4 separate regions of the Homo sapiens genome follow, and regions 1, 3 and 4 are each linked to region 2. Evidence: promoter capture Hi-C in 16 types of primary human blood cells and fetal thymus (Javierre and others, 2016). All regions are on one chromosome and are shown on one strand. The core of a region is centred on a gene start or on the middle of the fragment in contact, and the rest is flanking DNA. Distances in the headings are between cores, read along the strand shown.

What was found. The method cuts DNA at HindIII sites, captures the fragments that hold promoters and counts their contacts. A CHiCAGO score of 5 or more calls a contact.
Region 1: a contact is called between a fragment that was not itself captured here and the fragment with the promoter of NUS1 in region 2, in 6 of 17 cell types (total B cells, neutrophils, total CD4 T cells and 3 more). The highest score is 6.2, in total B cells.
Region 3: a contact is called between a fragment that was not itself captured here and the fragment with the promoter of NUS1 in region 2, in 1 of 17 cell types (monocytes). The highest score is 5.0, in monocytes.
Region 4: a fragment that was not itself captured here is called in contact with the fragment with the promoter of NUS1 in region 2 in 1 of 17 cell types (monocytes); the score reaches 5.4 in monocytes.

What each region holds. Positions count from the first base shown.
Region 1 is chr6:118,559,094-118,563,067 of GRCh38, reverse strand. The region is part of intron 3 of CEP85L (centrosomal protein 85L); the gene reads left to right. It overlaps PLN (phospholamban), which reads right to left. Exons shown (of 2, transcript NM_002667.5): 2 at 1,352-3,974. Among named protein-coding and RNA genes, the nearest start is that of PLN, 13 kb to the right of the region's middle. The HindIII fragment of the contact is 1,726 bases long and covers 1,862-3,587 here.
Region 2 is chr6:117,674,094-117,678,216 of GRCh38, reverse strand. It overlaps NUS1 (NUS1 dehydrodolichyl diphosphate synthase subunit), which reads right to left and starts at 2,748. Exons shown (of 5, transcript NM_138459.5): 1 at 2,132-2,748. The coding sequence starts at 2,546. It overlaps LOC101927919 (a long non-coding RNA gene), which reads left to right and starts at 2,933. Exons shown (of 3, transcript NR_110854.1): 1 at 2,933-3,120; 2 at 3,382-3,570. The HindIII fragment of the contact is 6,476 bases long and covers 1-4,123 here.
Region 3 is chr6:118,636,679-118,640,630 of GRCh38, reverse strand. All of the region lies in intron 1 of CEP85L (centrosomal protein 85L), which reads left to right. Among named protein-coding and RNA genes, the nearest start is that of CEP85L, 13 kb to the left of the region's middle. The HindIII fragment of the contact is 4,221 bases long and covers 1-3,871 here.
Region 4 is chr6:118,580,592-118,584,775 of GRCh38, reverse strand. All of the region lies in intron 2 of CEP85L (centrosomal protein 85L), which reads left to right. LOC107986524 (a long non-coding RNA gene) reads right to left here. Exons shown (of 5, transcript XR_002956384.2): 5 at 2,478-3,047. Among named protein-coding and RNA genes, the nearest start is that of PLN, 34 kb to the right of the region's middle. The HindIII fragment of the contact is 5,821 bases long and covers 1-4,184 here.

The DNA.
Region 1 (3,974 bases), core at 1,475-3,974, 880 kb before region 2:
CAACCCCTAAGCTGCCTGACTCTATAGGGACTATGACAGAGGAGGAAAAACAGTCTGGTCTTTTTGGGAAGACTCCTTCCCTTTCCATGGCCCCCTTGAGTTCCTTTTCTTGGGGAAGGTAGGGTGGAAGGGATGGAGGATAAACACTTCTACACGTAACGGCAGTATCCATTTGGATTCCTGTAAGCCCACGATGGATCTCCCAGACAGTAGTGAAATAATAGTAGCCTCTTTATTGATGAAGTTGTTTATCCTTTTTTCCCTAGGATGTTTCTGAACTTCAGGTGGCAGTCATTAAAAAGATGAAATTTTGTGCCTATTTAGTCATAAGGGTGTTTGAACAGTTATGGTATTGGCACCTATACATATTTTACTGGAGATTTTCCCTTGTATAAACAAAAAATTTGGACCAAGCATGGTAGCTCACCCCTGTAATCCCAACACTTTGGGAGGCTGATGGGGGGTGGATAGCTTGAGGATAGGAGTTTGGGACCAGCCTGGGCAATGAGACCCCATCTCTACAAAAAATAAAAAGAATTAGCCATATATGGTGATGTGCCCCTGTAGTGCCAGCTACTTGGGAACCAAGGTTGGAGAATCCTTTGCACCCCAAGAGTTCAAGGCTGCAGTGTGCAATGATCATGTGACTGCATTCCAGCCTGCATGACAGAGTAACACCCTGTCTCTTGATTTAAAAAAAAAAAATTGATAAAATGAGTTAAAGTAAAATGACTTGTTTTTTGTCTAACATGAAATAATAATGAAAAAGTTTTATTTATAACTTGAGAGTGTTTAAAGTATTCTGTTACGTCCTGTGAACAGAAAGTTTTCTTATTTTTATTCTTATTTTTGTACCCTGTTCTGGCTTTAATTTTTTAACTGTTTGAGATAATTTATATATTCAAAGATGTGAACACTATGACACTCCCTATATTAGGATATGACACATTCATTAGGTAGTTAAAGAGGACTTTTATATACCTGTTTTAATGAATAAAATTAGTAATGTGTTTCACTTTTTTCATCTGTCAAGTTTTCTATGTAATATTAGCATAAAATTTCTGGACATTTTGAAGTGTGCTGTTACTTAGCAGAAGAGCAGATCTTTTCTGAAAATTTATTATAGTCCTACTTTGCCAGAAGTCTCAAAAATAATCAAAAGATAAATAATCGCTATGTAGTAGCAATTTGTTATCTTATATACGTCTGCCCTCTTGTGTGTCTGGACTTGGGCGTCTTGATTTTGTTTTATTTGGGGAAAGTCACCAAAAAAACCCCTATAAAATTAAAACTATAATTAGAGCGTTTTATCGTTAGTATCAATTGTAAGTGTATTATAGAGCAGCCCCACTGAGTTTTCAAGAACATTCATTTTAATATAGTGATTCTGATTTGCATTAAACAAATATATATTCTTAACCAATTAAAATATAAAAGGCAACATTAAGCATTTTAAAATTGTTTTTAGTGCCCTGTAAATTAAGATAAGAACTTATTCTATAGTAGAACATATTTGAGCATTTAGTATATTAAATTTTAAAAATAAATTGTTTTCTTATATCTTATTCTTTACACTTTATGATGAAGAATAATTATTTAAAGAGTTTATTCTACTTTATAATTTGAGTTATAGTATTCTGTAATCCTCACAGAATAAGATTTTAATTTCTATCAAAGAATGAAGAACAAAAAAATTAGTTATTTCTGTTTACTGAGAAAAATATTGTAACAAACAGTGTAATCAAAGGAATATGACTAATCAGTTCAAATTTTCCACTTGTTTTTAAGACTAGGGATACTTTCTGTATTGGTAATTTACTAAAACCAGTGAGGTGAGTGTATCACCTGTTGTTTATAAGCTTTCTACTTGTTTTTAGGAATTTCCAGCTTGTAGATGAGGCGTCACTTAAGAAATCTCTGCCCTTCTGTTCTTCAGATATCCCTGAACCAAACACTTTCCACTCCCCATCTCTAGTATCTCTCATGGGTTCAGAAAATTTAATAGTGTCTCCTTCACTATTGAGTTAGCAACACTTGTGTAAGAAACCAAGGTCAATATTGATGTTACATATTCTTTTAGTAACCATGTTTTAGAAGATATGGTTAATTACACATCCTCTACTCTTTTAATAATAGTTATATTAGTAACATGTCTTCAACTGAAATTAAAATTGTTGGATTATGCAGTATAGGTGTAAACTATTTTAGACTTAATTTTAAACTTTAGTCAACTTAAATTACCAAAGTTTGGTGAATATATTTTCCAGCACTCAATTTTACTTCAGTTGTTTTATGAGTTATTGGAAGATGTTCTGAAATGGTCAGAGGAGAAATTGAAAATTTATTCATCAAGAAAATAATTATAAATAGCATAGCTGGATCTATAATTTAGCTCAGTAGAGTGGACTGCAAAATAGATGCTTACCATTTGGTTGATAGAGGAAGAAAAATAGCTATATCCTATTACAGTTGACCCTTGAACAACAAGGGCTTGAATTGCAAGGGTCCACTTATACATGAATATTCTTTCCCCCACTCCCCACACCCCTAAGACAAGACTGCAAGACCAACGCCTTCTCTTCCTCCCCATCTTTCTCCTCCTCTGCCTACTCAATGTGAAGACAATGAGAATGAAGACTTTTATGTTGACCCACTTCCATTTAATGAATAGTAAATATATTTTCTCTTTCTTATGATTTTCTAAATAACATTTTCTCTAGCTTACTTTATTGTAGGAATATAGTGTATAATACATATAACACGCAAAATATGTGTTAATTTACTGTTTATGTTATCAGTAAGGTTTATGGTCAATAGTAGGCTATTAGGTAGTTAAGATTTTGCGGACCCACGAATTGTCAGCTCCCCTAACCCCCATGTTCAAGGGTCAGCTGTAGATGTAATAGATGGGCCAACAAGTTCATTTCAAAATATAATCTAATAATTAGTTAATATTTGGAGAGAGAATTCATATATTTTTAAAAAATACTTGAGATAATATATTTTTCTGTCACTGGAAATCTTTTATTTTCCTTGCCTGCATTGGATGTTAGGCTGGAATGGAAGACAACCTGCAAAATCATTCTGAAGTCTTAAGGTTTCATGATTCCAAAGATATAGTATGGTAAGCTAGGTAACTCTAGCTCAGATAATTCACTACAGTGCCTTAAATGAAGATTAGATTCTGTTGTTAGTATATTAGTGATATGACTAATCTCACTGTCACATATTAACCACCAGTTCTCATCTGTTGATCATATGTCTTAGAACAGATTTATGATTTACCTACATGTACTAGAATTCTGTGATTCTTTGAAAAAATTACTTAAAAGGAATTTTATTATGTAAGAGTATGGCCTTACTTTTCCATACTTGATTCTCATCAACTTTAAAAGATGTTAATGTGGCATAGAAAAAATACAATTTCTGTTTTAGAATGTAGATTCTGATAGTTACTACAAATAGTTCTTTATAATAAGATAACAGATGTGAGGAGTCAGTGGACTATTTTGAATAATGACACTTCATTTGTGTTATTACTTTGATACTTGGTGAAGACCTGAAAAATACTTAGTATTAAAGAAGCTTTTACATTGTAATATAAATTATATTCACCTCAAAAGAGTAAAAATAATGCTTTATATATGAAGTGAACTTGTTGGCAGTGCAGTTTTAAAACTAAACTCTTCATCTTCAGAAAAGATTTGGGATAGAAATTTGTGAGCCATGTTGAGGAAATCAACAGTTGCATTTTATACACTTATTTTGAAGTTAATTTTTGAAAATAAAGCCCTTTTCATGTTTACAAGATCCAACAGATGAATACATATGGTAACAATAAGTTTTAGTCTTAATCTTGACCTTTTCACAAAGAAACTCTTCTACTCAGGAAGTGGTCTGTTATACAATATTGTTTTCCTGTCTGCATGGGATGACAGATTTTAAGCTGATGTGGCAAGCTGCAGATCTAGAGG
Region 2 (4,123 bases), core at 1,499-3,998:
CCTGTAAGCCCTTTCACTGAAAATGCTCCTTAAGGTGCCTTTCAGTTCTCAGCCAAAACTTGGCTTAGCTTACTTCTTCCTTTTAATTACTAATCATTTTTCTTTTAGCAACTATGACACAGGATACTTCTGAATCACATCAGCAATTTAAACACAGGACTTGCAGAAACAAGGAAATGTGGCAACATTATAGTCTGTACTAGTAGGCACGGTCATCAAGTCAAACAATTTAGCTATACATTTTCCTTCCCTACTGGAAGATAAAGATACTTGCTTTAAAAGAATCACCTGGCTGTACATCAATCCACCACGTTGCTTAATGCCTTTATGTCCACTTTTGCTTCACCTATTTTTTTCCCCAAGCAAAACTGGTTGCATTGGTTTAGGCATGGATTGTGTCATCTCCTAACAGTCTCATGATTTCTATTGGTCTGCTGAGTTCTTTAGCAAGTTCCATAAATGTCAGTCTCTGAATATATCAAACTTTACCCTATAGGGCAAATCATCATTTGGTGATGACAGGCTACTGCGTCATCATGTTCCTTGCGGGCTGCAGGAAAGATGATAGGGCAATCAGAGATCAGCCTGTAAGCGTTACTGTCTGGCCTATGCCTTCCCTTTCTGACAAAACCCTGCACTTAAATTTACCAATCTGACAAAGATGTATGCCTCTCTAGAGCACACAGGTAATTTATTGAACAGAGAATAAAACTTTTGTTTTCTTCCCTTCATACCAATACTCTTAAATCATTCTTCTCACATCTTTAAAGAAATTCCAATGCTTTCAAGATCTGATTGAAAATCAAACCTGACATCCCAAACCTGAGTATTCCTCAACTTATCTCCTACCTATTCTTCAAGGTCCTGCTTAAATCCCACCTCCACTGCATGAACTTCTCAAGTTCCTTCATTCACAATTTCTCTCCTCTCTTCTCACAATAGTAATTTTACTCTCAACACTTCTTGTTATTAACCATGTCAAATATGTGAGTGTGTGCCTACCTCCTAACAAGCCTGAGAGTCCATGGAATTAAATGCAAGATTCCAAGGAATATGCCTAGCACAGTGCTTTAGGTTTGTAGCTACCCAATAAGTACTGAATTTTTGTACTTACAAAAACTCCCTATGGTGAAATTCATTCCCTCAATCAAAACATATGAGAGGACAATTCTATCAAGTACTGTGTTGGGCACTGATGATGAAGGATCACAAACCATCCCAGCCTTCCAAGACAGAAAGGGACCATTTTCTTTTCTGCCTATCCAATCTCTCACATATTTTTCATAAACCCAGTTCAAATACCACCTGACCCCCACCGCTCCCATTTGCAGTACCTATCACACAGCCCATGCCTAAGTCCTCTATAGCCTCACTGCGACTTAAGAACAGCGCCTGGAAGCTCTCTTAAAGAAACAGTGTGGTGTAACCAAAGGCAAAGATTGTGAAAAAGCACAGAATGGCTAAAATTCCAATATCCTCATTCCGATCTTTGTGGCCCCATTACGATCTTGTGGCCTTGGGCAAATCAGTTAATGTTTTTAAACCTTGGCAAGGGTATACAAATACCATCTACATTACTGCAGTATTATAACGAATAAGAGATTTTTTATTTATTTTTATTTATTTATTTACTTATTTGAGACAGAGTTTCGCTCTTGTTGCCCAGGCTGGAGTGCAGTGGCGCGATCTCGGCTCACCACAACCTCCGCCTCCCGGGTTCCAGCGATTCTCCTGCCTCAGCCTCCCTAGTAGCTGGGATTACAGGCATATGCCACCACGCCCGACTAAACTTGTATTTTTAGTAGAAACGGGGTTTCTCCATGTTAGTCAGGCTGGTCTCGAACTCCCGACCTCAGGTGATCCGTCCGCCTCGGCCTCCCAAAGTGCTGGGATTACAGGCATGAGCCACCGCGCCCGGCCAAGGGATATTTTTAAAATGTTAAAAAGCTACTGAGTCAAATCCAGAGAATTAGTAGGTGTTCAATAAAGCTGATCTCCCTTCCTCGAAAGCGCTAGCGCTGTGATTTGCAGAGAGGCCGCGGCAACTCGTGCCATGGGCACCACCCGCCAGACCAGCGGTCTAGCGGTCCAAGACGCCTCGGCCACCCCCCACCACCGCACCGGGCCTCACCTTGGTGGTCGTAGACGCTAATGTAGGAGATGCCCACGGCCATACACCACACCACGAGGCTCGCGATGTCCGAGAAGCTGGGTTCCTGCTCCACCTCGGTGATCACCAGGCCCATATGCACAGGCAGCTTCTCCAAGGAACGACCGTCCGCGCGCCAGCGCATCCGGTGGTGTGCGGCTGCCAGGCACGACCCCCCGCGCGGGTGCCGGTGGTGACGGCGGTTCCTGCCGACTGCCGGGGGCTTGCGGAGCGTGAAGCCGAGCGGCGCTAGGACCGCGGCAGAGGCGGCGCGGCAGCAGCGCCGCCAGATCCAGTTCCAGGTGCCGAACCGAACGCGGAGCCAGGAGGTGAGCGTGCGGTGCAGACAGAGCAGCGCGTGCAGCACCCGCCACACCAGCTCGTACAGCCCCGTCATACTCTTGTGGCCCTCAGACACCCCCTCTCCCTCCCGCCCACTCCCGCAGCGCGACGGCTTTTTATCCGCCCCTGCGGCCGGCGCGGGCCATCGCTCCGCGTCCCCCCGCCCCCCGAGCCCGAACCCCTTTCCACTGCCAACACCTCACCTCGCCCCCGCCGCCATCTTCCTCCTCCCTTGGCAGCCCCGCCCCCAGTAGTACATGGACAGTTCCGATTGGCCAGCGTGGAATTCTGACGCGGCTTCTGGGTCCGAGAACGTGGCCCGTTCCGGCGCAGTGAGGGAAGGCGCACGCCTGCGAACTAGCCGGGCCGATACCGCGGGCGCCCCCTGGTCGCGTGGAGGGCGATGAGCGAACGACCCGGGACTTGTCTGAATGGGACCCCAGCAAGGCACACGTGGTCTTCAATGCGATGGGCGCTTCCAGGGGACCCGGCGTCCCTTGGGTCCAGGAAGTCTTATACTGTCTCCTCTCACGGCCCCGACAGAAACGGTTTCTGAGGAGTAGAAGTGTCCTAAGTGGATTGGAAATTACAAATGCCGGAAAGAACCTAGGGATGGAAAGCAGCCCTCAGTAAGTGTTGATGCTGGGAATCCACCAGGGTTTCCAAAAGTGTCCTCAAAGGCTGGAGTGATCCTGCTACTGTCCTTTATTCAGCCTCCCGGCTGAGGCTGGGAGCGAGGCTCTTTAGCCATGTTCCTGAAACACCCCTCTACCCATGTCATTCTCATCTAAGGTATCCTTTCCTGGCTGTACATTGCTTAATAGAGGCTCTACAGCTTGGCAGTCCAGTCACTTAATTCTTTTTTTTTTTTTTTTTTTTTATTCGGCAAGACTTTGACCAACCGCCGTGGGTTAGGTTTACAGTGGGGAAAAAAAATAGAAATTGTGCCTGACTTCAATGACCGCCACTATTTGAAGCAAACTGCCCATCCAAGCCTTATCATCCCCTTTAACACCCTAATGTTTCTGTCCATGTGGACTTCGACGTGGTCCTCTAGAATGGTTTTGTACTTCCCCGCGGTAAGTCTGTACTGTCTTTGCCCTTTTTGTTCAAGCTCTTCTCCTGAATTCCTGATTCCCGACTTGGTATTGCCGACATTCCAACCCATTTCTCAAGGTTTATCCTACATGCTACATCCTCTATCATCATATATATGTGTGTGTGCAACAATAATATTTATATTATTTGCATTTATATTTATATAAGTATATATATAAAGATTAGGGAGGTATTACAAAAATGCAACTGTACACATACACACGTATACACACATATTTACACACGTGTGTGTGTGTAAACAGTTGCGTTTTTGTAATACCTACCTATTCTTTGTTCGCTAAAGCCTCTTTTTCCCCCTGGGAAACATCTGTTCACGTCTTGGCTATGTGACTTAATTTTTCTAACATTGTCACTTTTTCAACTAGTCTCATTTTGGTTTCTAAGACTCATTTAACTTTACTTTAAAAGTTGAATCTCATGTCCATCTCCCTTTCGCAGTGCAATTTTCCTCCCTTTGGCAGTGCAGCCTGAAGAACTGAGGGCTGGGCACCAGGCACACCCTTCACACACTTC
Region 3 (3,952 bases), core at 512-3,011, 960 kb before region 2:
ATCTCTTGAACCTGGGGGATGAATGTTGCAGTGAGCCGAGACTGCACTACTGCACTCCATCCTGGGCAACTGAGAGAGGCTCTGTCTCAAAAACAATAACAACAACAAAAAACTTTACATGTTCATTGATCACAACAACCCTATAATATAGGTACTATTCTATAATTTTTTTCTTCTCTTACATATGAAGAAATTGAGGCACAGAGAGGTTAAGTGATTTATGAGGACTTACTGCTAATAAGAGGTAGAATGAACTTGAACCCAGGTAGCCTGGTTTCACAGTGCACACTGAGCTATACTGGTAATTCTGTGATAAAAGAAACAAACTAAGACTATTGGAGTCACTTACCCTAGAGATAAATAGTACTGAAATGGAGTGGAGGATTGGGATGGAGAAAATAACACTATGTGATGTTTCTGTCATCTTAGCTAGATATTCTGCAGTGTAGTTCCAGATTTGTTGGTTTTTTCTGTTTGGCTACTGTTAATATGAACGTTTTTTTCTTACCGTTTAATGTTCTAATTTTTTGTGTGAGTTTTGTGTCTTTTTAACCTATTGGAGACTGTTTTCCCATGTTAGGAATGTTGGCCATCAGATCTCTAAATTATTTAAAATTACCTTAAAAAAAGCTGCATTGATAAATATTTACTGATCTCTAAATAGATACTTAAATGCATACTGGCTCAAGGGATAGTTTAAAATATCCTGGATTTTAAAATAAGCAGACAACAACCACCAAACAAAACGCTTGTTTGAATCCTTTTTCTGAACACAAAGATATTTTTGTAGTTGTAATTGTAAGGCTTCCAAAATTCTAATTTTATTCTGTGAACATTTGTTAGGTATCCAGTGGTTATAATGACTACATTTATTGAGACCCTGTATAAGTGTGCAGCTCTTTGCTAGGTACTGGACACTAAAAAAAGTTGCCTTTCATTTTTCACAGTTTGGTGAGGGAGAAGAAAGTCATATACATATGGGTTAATATAATTTATTAAATGTTGTTGGAATTTTGAATAATATATTGGGAGTGAACAAAGTATTTAATGCCACCTGGAGGAATCAGGGAAGACAGAACAAGTTAATTCTGAACTAGGACTCTTAAGGTGCAGAAGTGAAACAGCTTGGAGTCATGAAAGAGTCTCATCTGTTTGGAGGAAGTGATTAGGTAAGTGTGGCTAGATAGTTTTTGTAGGTAGAAGTTGCAAAGTGAAGCTGACAATTGGTGAAGAACTTTGCCTAACTTAAGGAGTTTGAATTTATTTAATATGCCGTAAGGGGCTCACAGATCTATGTAAGTAGAAGAATAACATAAACATGCTTGATTCTAGAAGATAGTAGAGTAGAGGCTGGCTTGAGTGGAGTTATTCCAGCAGCAGAATAGGTTCTTTGTGCAAAAGTACTTGTTAATATTTCAGAGATGTTAAAATGTGAACCGCGTGCTACTTATGTAATATAAGGGTAAACATGCTTTATCTACTATTTTATTTGAAAGTGTTGGTTTCCAAGTTGATTTTAAAACATACTAATGGGTGACAGATAATCTGCATTCTGAAAAACATTGCAATTTGTATTCTCGATTTGTATTATGTATTCAGCTTATTTAAAAGTATAAATCTGCTTTGTCAGTAGTGTTATTTTTATTTTCTTCAATTTAGAGCTGTCATTAAAATATTCAATGAGAGTAGTTCTTGTTCTCAGTGCAGTTACATATATATTCAAATGCTGTGGAATACTTGATACTGTATGCATTTTTGCTTCCAATAAAAGAGCTTCAGAAGTAAAATAGGTTGCTTTTTTATTTAATGCTAATCTTCCTGTCTGAGAAATATTCAGAATTTTTAATGTTATCCGCAGGCACTCAGTATTCTATTAAAATAATTAAAATTAGTATTAAAAAATTAGTATTGAAAAATGTAACATATTGTCTTCCAAGGAGGAGTTCCAATGTAGAGTTTCTTGGGATCTTTGCTGTTCTTACAGCAGTCCTTTTGTCTTTAGGTAAGACATTATTGCCAGAGGTTATTCAGCCTTATTTTGAGTTTTTAAGTGCATATTGCATACTAGATATCAATATTCCCATTTCAGTAACATAGTCTTGTAACTATTCTGTGAGAAAATTTTCCTTATTAAATCACCTGGTCAGCATATTTCACATGTACTTCTTCCTGTATTGTGCTTCTGGATTGACTTGTCTAAAGACAAGTCATGTCATTCTTTTCAGACTGTGAATTTTTTCAGTTTAAATTAAAAGATTAGAATGTTATTTTCATGACATTTGTTAATCATCTTCAGTGTTTGAGGCACATACAATACCAGATCTTCTTTTTAAAGACATAGTTATGTTTAAAGGTTAAGGCAAATTAGTTCAGGTGGGAGGAGATCAATTTATATAGTTAATTCTTTTCCTTTTTTTTTTTTTGAGACGGTCTCACTATGTTGCCCAGGCTGGTCTCGAACTCCTGGGCTTAAGCAATCTTACCTTGGCTTCCTGAGTAGCTGGTATTACAGGCATGTGCTACACATGATGTATATTGCCTAATAGCCTATCAAAAGGTTGTGTTTTTGTAATGAATAAATTAACATTACCATTATCAGTGTATGGGAGTATCTAGGAACACTGTTGTTTTGTTCTTTTAACATTTTTGCTAGATTGATAGCTGAAAAATAGCATGTCTTCTGAATTTGATACTACTTGCTTACCAGTGGGCTTGGACTATTTTTCAGAATTTTTTATTTGTGTTTTTCCCTTTGGGGTTTGTCCTTTGTCCATTTAGACTAAACCATTTAGTATTTATTTATTTATTTTTAGTTTGCTTATGATCTCTTTATAATTATGCATTAATACCATATCTGCAAATATTTTTAGTGTTTGCCTTTAACTTCTTAAATATATAGACAACTTTTTTTTTTTTTTTTTTTTTTTGAGACAGTCTTGCTTTATTACCCAGGCTGGAGTGTAGTGGCATGATCTCGGCTTACTGCAGCCTCCACCTCCTGGGTTCAAGTAGCTTAGCTTCCCAGGTAGCTGAGACTACAGGCATGTGCCACCATGCACAGAGGCATTTTTTTGAATTTTTTTTTTTTTTTCTTTTGTAGAGATGGGCTTTTGCCATGTTTTCCAGGCTGGTCTTAAACTCTTGAACTCAAGCTGTCTGCCAGCGTTGGCCTCCCAAAGTGCTGGGATTACAGGTGTGAGCCACCTTGCCCGGCCTAGACAACAATTTGATGATTTATGTGGTTTGCTTACTTTTTGTGTCCTTCTGTAAAAGTCAGAGGTTCAAGTTTATAAGGTGGCAGTACACTGAAAGAAATTTTAGGAAGATCATTTCCCTGAGTTGCTAAATAAAAAGGCTCTAAGTATGTATGTACTGCTCTGTGATTCAAAGATAGAATTTAGGGTTTCTAGAGGGGCGGAATGATAGCATGTCTTAGACCATTTTCTCTGTCATTTCTTATAGCTTTTTTTGTATAAAAGTTAGATAACAGATAGTTGAGATTGTACTGATGTGCTTTGGAAATCTGTGGAATAGGTATCATATTGAGTAGATGATATTGAAATACTGTAATGGAAATTGAGGATTACAACTATTGTTCTTTTCTAAATAGAAGGCTGTCCCCACTTTTTCATATCTGTAGGCAAGATTAGAATTTTTCTAGTTTTCCCAATATTGTATTGAAGTTCTCCAGAGAAACAGAGCCAATAGCATTTAATTAATTAATTAAGAATTGGCTCATGAGATTATGGTGGCTGACAGGTCCCAAGATCTGTGAGGTGATTTGGCAAGCTGGAGACCTGGGATTGTTGATAGCATAGTTCCAGTCTGAAGGCTGGCAGGCTCAAGCCCCAGGAAGAGATCAGTTCAAGCTTGAAGGTAGGAAAAAGCCAGTGTACTAGTGTATTTAATCAAAGGGGATCAGGCAGGAAGAATTCTCTTCTGCTTAGGGGAT
Region 4 (4,184 bases), core at 770-3,269, 910 kb before region 2:
ATCATTTTCCAGAGTTAATTTGGAGGCTTCTGGGACCAACAGAGCCACTGAGGCAATGGCGGGGAGGCATGCTGGCCATCCTTTAGCCACCAACTCAAGTTCCTTACTTAGGCAACCCACTGGCTGTTGGCCTGGTCTTTGGGCCTGTGTTAATACTCCCAGGGCCATTCCCTTCTTTTCTGATACATACAGATTGAAGTCCTTCCCTATAGGAAGGGTGAAAGTTGGTGCCTTAAGCAAGGCTTGCTTTAGCTGGTCAAAGGCCTTTTGAGCTTCAGATTCCCAGGTTAAAAGATGAGTTTTAGTTCCTTGAGTTTATTTTATGAGGTTATATCATGGACAGCCTATTTCACCATACCCAGGTATCCATAGTCTACAAAATCCTGTAATGCCCCAAAATCCTCTGAGTTGCTTGAGGGTTTTGGGGAGGGGAAAGGAAGAAATATTCTCAACTCCCTCCTTCCCTAATGCTCTGGTCCCCTCAGACAGCACTAAGCCTAGGTGTACTTCACTGAGGTTTTGCAGAGCTGGGCCTTGGGTTTTGAAACTTTATATTCTCTGTTAGCTAACATATTGAGAAGAGCTTCAGTGCCTTCCTGAAAAGCATCCTCAGTTGGGGCACATAGCAGAATATCATCAACATACTGCAAGACCTTAACTTAAGGTTGAGAGAACTCAGAGAGGTCTTGTGACAGTGCCTGTCCAAACAGATGAGGACTATTTCAAAATCCCTGAGGCAGCACCGTCAGTGTTAACTGGGCGTCTGGCTGGAGGAATATTTGAAGGCAAACCGGTATTGACAGTCAGGATGTAACGGTGTACAGAAAAAGGCATCCTTTAAATCTAGGACTGTAAACCATTTAGTTCCCTCAGGTATTTGAGTTAACAGGGTATAGGGATTAGGGACCACTGGATGGATTGGAACTACAGCTTCATTAATGAGGCGAAGGTCCTGAACCAGGCTTCATTCCCCATTGGGTTTCTGTGCTCCTAATATTGGGGTGTTGCAGGGGCTATTACAGGGTTTGAGGAGGCCCTGCATCTTTAGGTTATTAATAATGGCTTCTAGCCCTTTCCTAGCCACTGGCCTTAGGGATAATATCTCTGGTTAGGAAAAGAAGTGGGATCCTTAAGATAGATCTGGACTGGCGTAGTGGTTATAGCTCAACCTATTCTTCCTTAAGTTGCCCACACTTCCACATTAATGTTAGCTTCCATCAGGGGGAGATAGAGTTTGTCCTGGGGCTGTAAAGATGCTGCAGGCCCCCATGCAAGCTAGAATATATCTACCTAATAAAGGAGTGGGACTTTCAGGCGTGATTAAAAAGGCATGTTTAAATAGTAAGTCTCCCCATCTGCAAAAGGGGTTGAGAAAAATATTGGGTTAGAGTTTTTCGTGATACACCCCTTATGGTTGTGCTCTGGGAAGAGGGGAGGCCTGAATTAGAGAGGAGGAGCAAGAGACTGGCTTCAGTATCCAGAAGGAGATCTACCTTCCTTCCTTCAATTTCCAGAATCACTCAGGGTTCCTGTGCTGTAATGGCAGTCTGAGTCGCTGGAGCCGGGGGTTTAAGCCTCGGGACCCGTCAGTCCTGCTGGACCATCTATGAGACTGGTTCTGAACCCAGCGACCTCTGCCTCTGGGGGCAGATCCATCTCCAGTGGTCTCCGCCACAGGCTGGACAGGGTCAAGGTGGCTTCGTCTTGCTGCCTGGGCATTCCCTCTTAAAATGCCCTGACTTGCCACATTGATAACAGCTAGCAGATGCACCTCAGGGATCCTGGACTTTACAAGCGTGCAATGCTGCTACTAGAGCCTCTGTTCTTCACTTATATTTCCTTTCCTTTTCTTGGGCCTCCTCCTGATCTGTATTGTAAATGACTGAAGTGGCTATTCTCAGGAGGTTCTCTAGGGTGCTATCTGGTCCTATAGCTTGTTTCTGTAGTTTCTTTCCAATATCGGGAGCTGACTGTGTAATAAACTTGTCCTTCAGGATTAGCTGTCCCTCGACTGAATCATGATAAAGAGGTGTGTTTTATTAGTGCCTCTCTTAGCCTTTCCATAAAGGCTGTGGGATTCTCATCTGGTCTATCATAGATAGTTTAGAGTAATCGAGAGGTTTGGCCCTGGTCTTCCATAGGCCCTCTAACATAGACCTTAAGAAGTGCTTCCTTTTCCATTCATTTCCTGCGTTATTGGGGTTCCAATCAGGGTTGTCCGCTGGAACTGCTTCCCTTCCTAGTGGGAATGGAGTTTCCACTTCTTCCTTACCTTCCTTGTCTCCTCTTTTTCTCCTTGGTCTGCTACAGGAGGCATGTTGCTTATATCCATATTTTTCTGCTGCCTGTGGAACTGCTGGCTTTTCAGCCCCAGTGAGGGTCTGACTTAGCAGCAACATAACATCCCTCTATGTGAGATCAAACACCTGAGTTAAATTTTGGAAAATTTCTATATACTTATCGGAGTCATCAGAAAATTGGGCCAAGTCTCTGTTTATTTGCTTAAGGTCCTGTAATGAGAAGGAAACTTGAACCCTCATGGCACCATTCCTATCAGCCATTTCCTGCAGAGGTAAGAATGAAGCGGGGAGAGTAGGATATACTGGAGATAGTGGAGCTGGAGGAGCTGATAGTATGATTGGAGGGGGACTGGAAGGATTGGGACATTCAATAGCTGTTTCAGATTGCTCCTCTGGAACCTGCTTTAGCTCTGGGGAACGATTCCCTGTGGCCGCTAAAAGAACTGGGTCAATTGTACAGAACTTGTAAAGGTCTGGGCTGTTTCACAGGGCAAAGAAAGTCTGTACATAGGGGATCTCAGTCCATTTGCCCTTCTGTTTGGAGAAAAGATCTAACTGTTGGATAATATTAAAATCAAGGCTCCCCGCAGCGGGCCAGGTTTATCTGTCCCCAAGATAGTAAGAAGGCTATGCTCTTGTGCAATAGAATATGAGTCACTTTTTTTTCAAAGTCTCAGGGTTGAAGGAGTCCCAGTGCTTTAAAATACATTCCAGAGGAGTGCATGCTGAAGACGATCTGTTGGCCATCTAGAAAGAGAAGTGAGAATAAAAGTGTCCTTTTAGTCTCCTTCCTTTTGGTGTATGACTCAGGGTGGAGAAGAAAACAGTAGGGGGCATTCCTCTAACTAGTCTCCCTCCCTGGTTCCTGGGTCCCGGCACCCAGTTAAATGTGCCGCCTGTGGCTGTAGGTGTGACCCTCCAAGCCATGGCACCAGAGAAACTAGACTTTTGAGGCCTAGTCACACTTACCCAAGTAGTCCCAGTCCTCTGCTTGTTATTTCCCTTTGACCTCCTAGACTTGTGTGACCTGTGTACCTCCCTAAAAAAAAATGGATCTCAGGGAAAACTGTGTAATTGGGGAAGGCCCCTTTAATGGAGGGGTTATGCTAGATTGAACTCTATATCCTGCTATTATGGCCCATGCTAAAGCATTTACCCTTAGAAAAATGGTTTCAGTTAACTTCCAGACTTAAAATCCCCTTACTAATTAAGTACTGTCTCTGTTGGAGACAGAATAGGTGACTTAAAGAAATGTAGGAACCAAATGGCTGTTTTCCTGCTGATGGGACAATATTGAGACTAAAATTTGGCTATGGAAGACATTTAATTTCTAACTGTTGAAAGCAGAATTTTCCCATTCCTGGAAGAGGCTTAGAGCCTGATTTCTAGCAGTGCAAAAGGAAGCTGCAGTGTTAGCATTAAAAAAAGTGCCTCATGTAGAGGATTTCTGTTTCCTCTAGGTGGCACTGTTGGCTTAGAAATACTGTGTGCTCCTCAGACAAGCGGTAGAGAGACCTGGAAATGCCGTGTGCTCTCCAGACCAAGGGGCTGAGAGAGAGAGGCTCACTGTCCCGGAGGAACCCTCTGTTCAGGAGATTGCAATGGCATTCTTGAGTTAAACTCCCGGTTACTAAATTCCCACACAGTTGACACATACACACAGAGTAAGAGACCACAGATAGAAAAGGAAGGAAAGTTTCATGACCGGATAGCTGAGGATTCTCTGCCAGCACCTGAAATGGGCTGTTGGAGGCTGGGTCTGGTCCAGAGGTCTTTGAGTCACACCAGGGTGTGCCCTGCCCAGAGATGCTCAGTTGCCTCAGAACTTTTCCCAGCCTTGCGCAACGGCGAGGTCTCCCCATGAAAGGAAGCTGATTCGAAATA